2 separate regions of the Homo sapiens genome follow, and region 2 is linked to region 1. Evidence: promoter capture Hi-C in human tissues and cell types (Jung and others, 2019). All regions are on one chromosome and are shown on one strand. Each heading gives the region's core, a stretch centred on a gene start or on the middle of the fragment in contact. The rest is flanking DNA. Distances are from core to core; before and after follow the strand shown.

Evidence for each region. The method cuts DNA at HindIII sites, captures the fragments that hold promoters and counts their contacts. A contact is called where the count stands out against the background at its distance.
Region 2: a fragment that was not itself captured here is called in contact with the fragment with the promoter of RSPH3 in region 1 in 1 of the 25 tissues and cell types used here (H1 embryonic stem cells).

Annotation. Positions count from the first base shown.
Region 1 is chr6:158,998,761-159,002,050 of GRCh38, reverse strand. RSPH3 (radial spoke head 3) reads left to right here and starts at 1,849. Exons shown (of 8, transcript NM_031924.8): 1 at 1,849-2,616. The coding sequence starts at 2,501. TAGAP-AS1 (TAGAP antisense RNA 1) reads right to left here and starts at 2,178. Exons shown (of 5, transcript NR_183546.1): 1 at 1,659-2,178. RefSeq lists enhancers at 1,541-1,590, 1,163-2,134, 2,001-2,160, 2,331-2,400, 2,431-2,480 and 2 more. The HindIII fragment of the contact is 9,808 bases long and covers 1-3,290 here.
Region 2 is chr6:159,604,014-159,607,473 of GRCh38, reverse strand. No RefSeq gene overlaps it. Among named protein-coding and RNA genes, the nearest start is that of SOD2, 87 kb to the left of the region's middle. The HindIII fragment of the contact is 4,798 bases long and covers 1-3,460 here.

The sequences.
Region 1 (3,290 bases), core at 600-3,099:
CTGCCCTGGGAGAAAGTACAAGAAGAGAAACAGGCTGTGGATAAAAACTTGTACAGGCCAGGCACAGTGGCTCACGCCTGTAATCCCAACACTTTGGGAGGCTGAGGAGGGCGGATCACCAGGTCAAGAGAACAAGACCATCCTGGCCAACATGGTGAAACCCCGCCTCTACTAAAAATACAGAAATTAGCTGGACGGGGTGGCACACGCCTGTAGTCCCAGCTACTCAGGAGGCTGAGGCAGGAGAACCACTTGAACCGGGGAGGCGGAGGTTGCAGTGAGCCAAGATCGCGCCACTGCACTCCAGCCTGGCCACAGAGCGAGACTCCATCTAAAAAAAAAAAAAAAGAAAGAAACTTGTACAAGAACCTATAGTGGCTATCAATTTCTTTATAAAGCCCACTGTGGCTGGTATAGCACTATTGTTTACCCACTTAATACCCACTCAATTCTGCCCCAACATCCTCCTAACAGAATTTGTTCTCCTCCTCCCTGGCCAAGTGTTTCTTGGAGGCCTAGAAAGACCGGTTACCTGGTCTAATCCAAATATGGTGGTCTTATATAGATCCTAAGCTTAAATCAATATGATGTAATTCTGGTCAGTTGGGAGTTTACGAGGGGGTTTTGCTCTTCCAATAAAGACAAAAGAGCAGATACTTCTATTACTACTTTGTTGAAGCCAACAACCCAGGTGACAGAGTGGAAAGGTAGGGGAAAAAACGTGTTGTTGATAATGTGCTGAGCCCCCAAGTTACCCTCCAGGTTAACCAACCTGGGGAGTGTAAAATAATGAATTCCTTATTATTTCAGCCACTTGGAATTGGTTTTTTGTTACTTGAGGGAAAAAATATTCTAATTAATATGCTAGTGTTTACTGTTTCCACGATGTGGTGTCAGCCTGTCTATATATATTTCTACAACTCATCTACACAAACCTTGCTTACAGTTTTCCAAATGCACCTTGGGCTTCTTGAGCCTTTGATCAAGCCATTCCGAATGCACTTCCCCCAAGAGGCTGGCCAGTTAAAATACTATCATTTATCAAACACAACTTAAATGTCACTTTCTCCTCTAGCCCTTTCAGAAATTACCTCAAAATTAAATGATCAGACCTAAAATATGTTGGGAGTGTTTTCACCTCTAGAATTTACCATACACCTTTATGCTAGTGTTACTTATAGAATGCCTACATCTGCTTTAGGTCATACACTTCAAAGCACAGAACGGTCCAGATCTTAATATAAAGGCTTGCCATTTACCAGGCACAGCTCTAAGTATTAACGGTTTTAATCCTCAAGACAAAACCTAAAGAGATAAATTCTTCTATTGCCACTTTGTGGATTAGGAAAATGAAGCACAAAAACATTTAACTTGCCTGAGGTTTCGGAGCTAGTACATTCTAGAACCTGGATTCAAATCAAGACAGCAATTAGCTGAATGAAGGTGTAACTGCAAATGCAAATAACTGATCACAAGGGATACACATTCACTCATACAAGATAGAAGATTTTTAACGTTGCTGGTACTAAAACCAAAGCGTCTGCGTTTTTAAGCGCAGCCCCACCCCGCAATACTAGAGACATTCTTTAGAGCTGGAAGCCTGATAGATTAAGGGGAACTATGCCTTTGTATTTTTTAAGACTCAATAAATTGCTCACTTCTTTCCCAAAATGAGGTGTCTGTGGGGGAGGCCCCTGTCGCTCCGTGTGCCAAGGGTCCTCCGATTGCTAGCACACAGCGGTGAGCAGAGAAGGTAGGTGAGGAACTGCACTGACTCAGCTGCAGAGGGCGGCGGCAGCCCGCCCCTGGGGCGGGAGAAGGGCAGGAGCCGGGAGACACCAGGAAGCTCTTCCCCGCCCGGGCACGTAACAGAGCTGGGAGCCTGGCTGCCAGGGGCGTGTTATCGCGGGGGCAGCCTGGGAGCGCTGCTGCGCCGCGGCAGGAGAAACAGCCGAGGACACCCTGGAAGAGCAGGAGCACGTGGGCCTGCGAGAATGGCGCCAACACCAGCCCTGCAAAGCCACATTCCAAAGCCGGGCCAAGGACAGCCACCGTTGCCCCGCAGGCCTCAAGGATGACGGTCAAGCCAGCCAAGGCCGCCTCCCTAGCCAGGAACCTCGCAAAGCGCAGGCGCACCTACCTGGGTGGCGCGGCTGGGCGGAGTCAAGAGCCGGAAGTCCCTTGTGCCGCAGTCCTTCCCGGGAAACCTGGGGACCGGAACTGCCCGGAGTTCCCGCCCCCAGACAGAACCCTGGGTTGCTGGGCAACCGATGCGGCCCCCGCAGCTGGTCTCTGTGGTGCTGGGAGCGAGCCCAGTATAGCTCCCACCTCCTGCGCTGGTAACCTCCCGTCCCGCCCGCCTCCCTTGTTGTCGCCTCTCCTCGCGTCGCGGAATCCTTGCCCTTGGCACTACTTACATCTCTCCGGGTCCCACAACACCTTAGCGCCCACCTGCTTCAAAGCCAAGCTCCACCGAAAGCGAGGCAGTCAGCCCCCGGACATGGCCTCAGCGCTGACTGATCGCACCTCTCGGGCCCCGAGCACCTACACCTACACCAGCCGGCCCCGAGCACTGCCCTGCCAGCGCAGCCGTTACCGGGACAGCCTGACGCAGCCGTGAGTGACCAAGCCAGCCCCTGTGTGGTCCATACTTGCACCCCATCCCCAGGCCGGGGTCTGGCCCCTTCGCCCTGGCAAAAAAGCTGCTTATGCTGTCTTCCCTTGGCTGCACTCTGCCGAAATAAAAGTTCTGCCCTAAGGAATCTCCCGTGGTGTGGAGGAGTGAAGCAGGAAGGGGCATGGGTTGGGCATCAGTTAACTTTTAGTGATATGAGTTGCTGCCGTGGTCCTTAACATGTACACGAATTGGCTCATTTCACAAAGTTTGAATTGTACCAGTGTGTATTGAGGGCCAACTACGTGCTGAGCACCTTACGGGGGGCATTCAAATACGTTTTCTTAGTTAATCCACAGTGCTGTGAAGTTGATTTTATAACTCCATTATGCAGATGAGGAGACCGCGGTGCAAAGATATCCAACAGTAGCATATCCAAAATGGGAGCCGAGTAAATCTCTTCGGCAGGCTTTGAGCAGGAGTAAGATTATTCTTCCATGCAGGACCACAGATTGGTTTTTTGTGGTGGTGGTGGTGGTGGTGGTGGTGGTTGCTGTTGTTGTTTTGAGACGGAGTTTCGCTCTTGTCGCCCAGGCTGGACTGCAATGACGCGATCTCCGCTCACTGCAACCTCCGCCCCCCTCCCCCACTCCTCCCCGATCAAACGATTCTCCTG
Region 2 (3,460 bases), core at 454-2,953, 610 kb before region 1:
TATATCAGAAAAGAAGAGAAGTCTTAAATCAATGACTTCACTTTCCAACTCAGGAAACAAACGATTTCTTAAAAAGCAAATTAATTTCAAAGTAAGTAGAAGAGAGGAAATAATAAAGAAATTAATAAAATATATACTTGAAAAACAATAGAGAATATTTATCTTTGAGAAAAATTAATAAAATTAATAAATCTTAGCCATACTGACCAGGAAAAAAAGACAGAAGACACAAATTGCCAATAGAAAAAATGAGAGATGTGATATCATTACAGATTCTACAGATATTAAAAGATAATAAAGGACTATTGTGAACAATTTTATGCCAATAAATTTGACAACTTAGATGAAATGGGCACATTCCTTGAGAGATGTAAATTACCAAAGCTCACTCAAAAAGAGATAGATGACTTAAATAGTCCTGTATGTATTAAAAACATTGAATTCGTAGCTATAAAATTTCCCACATAGAAAACTTCAAGCACAGATGGTTTCACTGATGAGTCATACCAATTATTTACAAAAAAAATTATTCCAGTTCTACCCAAATTCTTCCAGACAATTAAAGAAGAGAGTACTTCGTATGTCACACTGTGAAGCTAGCATTACCTTATAATAAATGATAAAGGATAATAAAACCAGACAAAGACATTATAAGAAAACTACAGACTAATATCATCATGAGAATAGTTACAGAAATTCTTAACAAATTTTTAGTAAATTGTATCCAACAATATATAACAAGAATGACATGTTATAGCCAACTGGAGTTTATCCTAGGAATGCAAAATTGGTTTAAAATGTAAAAATCAAACTGTATAATTCACCACATTAACAAACTAAAACAAAAACAACAAAATATCATAGCAAAAACAAAAAAAAAAACCTAAAGTCAAATCATGTTTTCATTGCAATAGACCAAGAGAAAGCATTGTCAGATTCAGTATTCATTTATGATAACATCTCTCAGTTAACTAAAAATAGAAGGAAACTCCAACCTGGTTAAAGGTGTTGATCCAAAAAACCATTTCTATTCTCATTTGCCTCGTAAACAAGTACCGCACAGAGCAGCGGATATAGTGGAATTAGTTTAAGCTTCTAGGTGAGAAATAAACTTGAATTCAAATTATGGCTTTTTTAATGCTGTGATCATAAACAAATTACGTAGCCTTTTTGGCTGGTCATGGTGGCTCATGCCTATAATCCCAACACTTTGGGAGGCCAAGGCAGGAGGATCACTTGAATCCAGGCATTCAGGACCAGCCTGGGCAACACAGTGAGATCCCATCTCTAATAATAATAATAATAATAATAATAATAATAATAATAATAATAATAAAAAGTAAATAAATAGCCTTTCTGAGCTTGAGTTTTCTTATTTGTAAAACAGATAATGAAGCCTATGTTTTGGAACTGTTTGTGGTACAAACAAGTTATCTTATGTCACTGCCTGGCACTGCTTACACACATTAAGTACCCTTCCCCTTTTTTTGTTCACCTGGTTCTGATGAGGGTGAGTTGGCAGTTTTCAGCATCTTTATTAGACACAAATGCTCACTGCAGATCTGCTTTGGGTGAGGCCTCTATGGGTTTCCTCTAATGGATTATAAAAGCATTCATCTCCTCCATTATGGAATGATCTGGTAGGGTGGAATGGGGAAGAGGTTAGGAGGCAATTAGAGGAAGATAGAACATCCCTAGTCTTCAGATGGGCTCTTTCTGGAAAACTCAGCTAGGGTTTTGGCAATAGACTCTTGTCCTGGACTTGCAGAGCAATGGGTGTTCAAGCTTAGATTTCTATCTAAGGTTACATTTCAGGGCAGAACACGTAGGATGCTAATCCATTGAGACAAGTATCTTTACAACTCAACAGTGAGGACAACTTTTAAGTTCCAAAATGCTCTGATAGAAAGCACTTTGGGAGGCTGAGGCAGGTGGATCACCTGAGGTCAGGAATTCTAGACCAGCCTGATCAACATGGTGAAACCCCGTCTCTACTAAAAGTACAAAATTAGCCAAGCATGGTGGTGCATGCCTATAATCCCAGCTACTCAGGAGGCTGAGACAAGAGAATTGCTCGAACCCAGGAGGCAAAGGTTGCAGTGAGCCAAGATCATGCCATTGCACTCTAACCTGGGTGACAAAGCTGGTCATTTATATGCAGTTAGTCCCATCCATTGCCTATAGGGCTACTATACTGTACTTAGTAATGGGGACATATTTGGATTTAGGTTTGCCAGAGGCTGGTATTTAATTTTTGCTCACTAACTGCATGCTCCTTGGTGATTCTGAGGGCAACATAGGGCTTCCAAAAGAGGTGTATTCATCACATTAAAGAAGAAGAGATAACTTGATGGCTGGGACCAGCAGGGCCCCTGCCTGCCAATAAGCACCTGTGTCAAGTACTACATTCCATGATGCACACTGGCATATTAAAAGCTCCAAGAAACCTGGCAGTGGAGACAGAAGCTGACTTCCAAGACAGAGGTTTGCGTCAACAAGACATTGACATGGCGGCTGTGAGAACCAGAGGAACATCCCCCTACACACACACACACCCACCCACAAACACACACACACCACACCATGTACACACCACCCCTATCATCCACACACACACACCACACACACGTTCACACCACACACCACATACACATACATACTATACACACCACATATGCACCACATATACATTCACACCACACACACACACTGCACACACGTTCACACCACACACCACATACACATACATACTATACACACCACACACCACACATCCACCACATATATATTCACGCCACACACACATTCACACTACACACATTTACACCTCACACACAGCCGTGACGTCAGGCCTGAGATGCCAGTAGGGAGAAGGCAAGGAGGGTGAAGAATGGTCTGGAAAGAAATGAGGATAACATGAAACAGATGAAGTTTTAAACCAGGAAGGGCTTCTCCTGTTAAGTGGCCTGCTAACCATGGGCTCCCCTGAAGCCAGAGGGCCATCGCTCACTCTTCTGGGCCCTCAAGGTAGAGTGATCTTTCCACGTTTCCTTATTTCATAGGACTGTGTAAATAGCACGAGGGAAATACTGACTCAAGAGGGTACATTTTTCAGTTTGTAGTGAAAGTGTTATTTCTCTGTCAGAATGCATGATGTCCTTCAGCCTCCTAGCCTGTCACCCCTTCTATGGGATAAAGAACTTCATAGACAAAAGGGGGTAAAGAGATTTAAACATTTTTGTGAAGACCTTTAAGTGTGCAGAGAAGAAGGGAGAAGTGAATTCCATAACATGATACCCATGATGAGGGAGAAGATAGAGCTGGTGTTTGAAATGATCAAACATTTCAAAGATTCAAATATCAGACACACAAAATAGAAGATTATGAAAAAACTCATAATGTTAAGGAGGCAAAGCAGAATTCCATCCTATTTCTATTTTTATTTGTTTAATGTTTATTT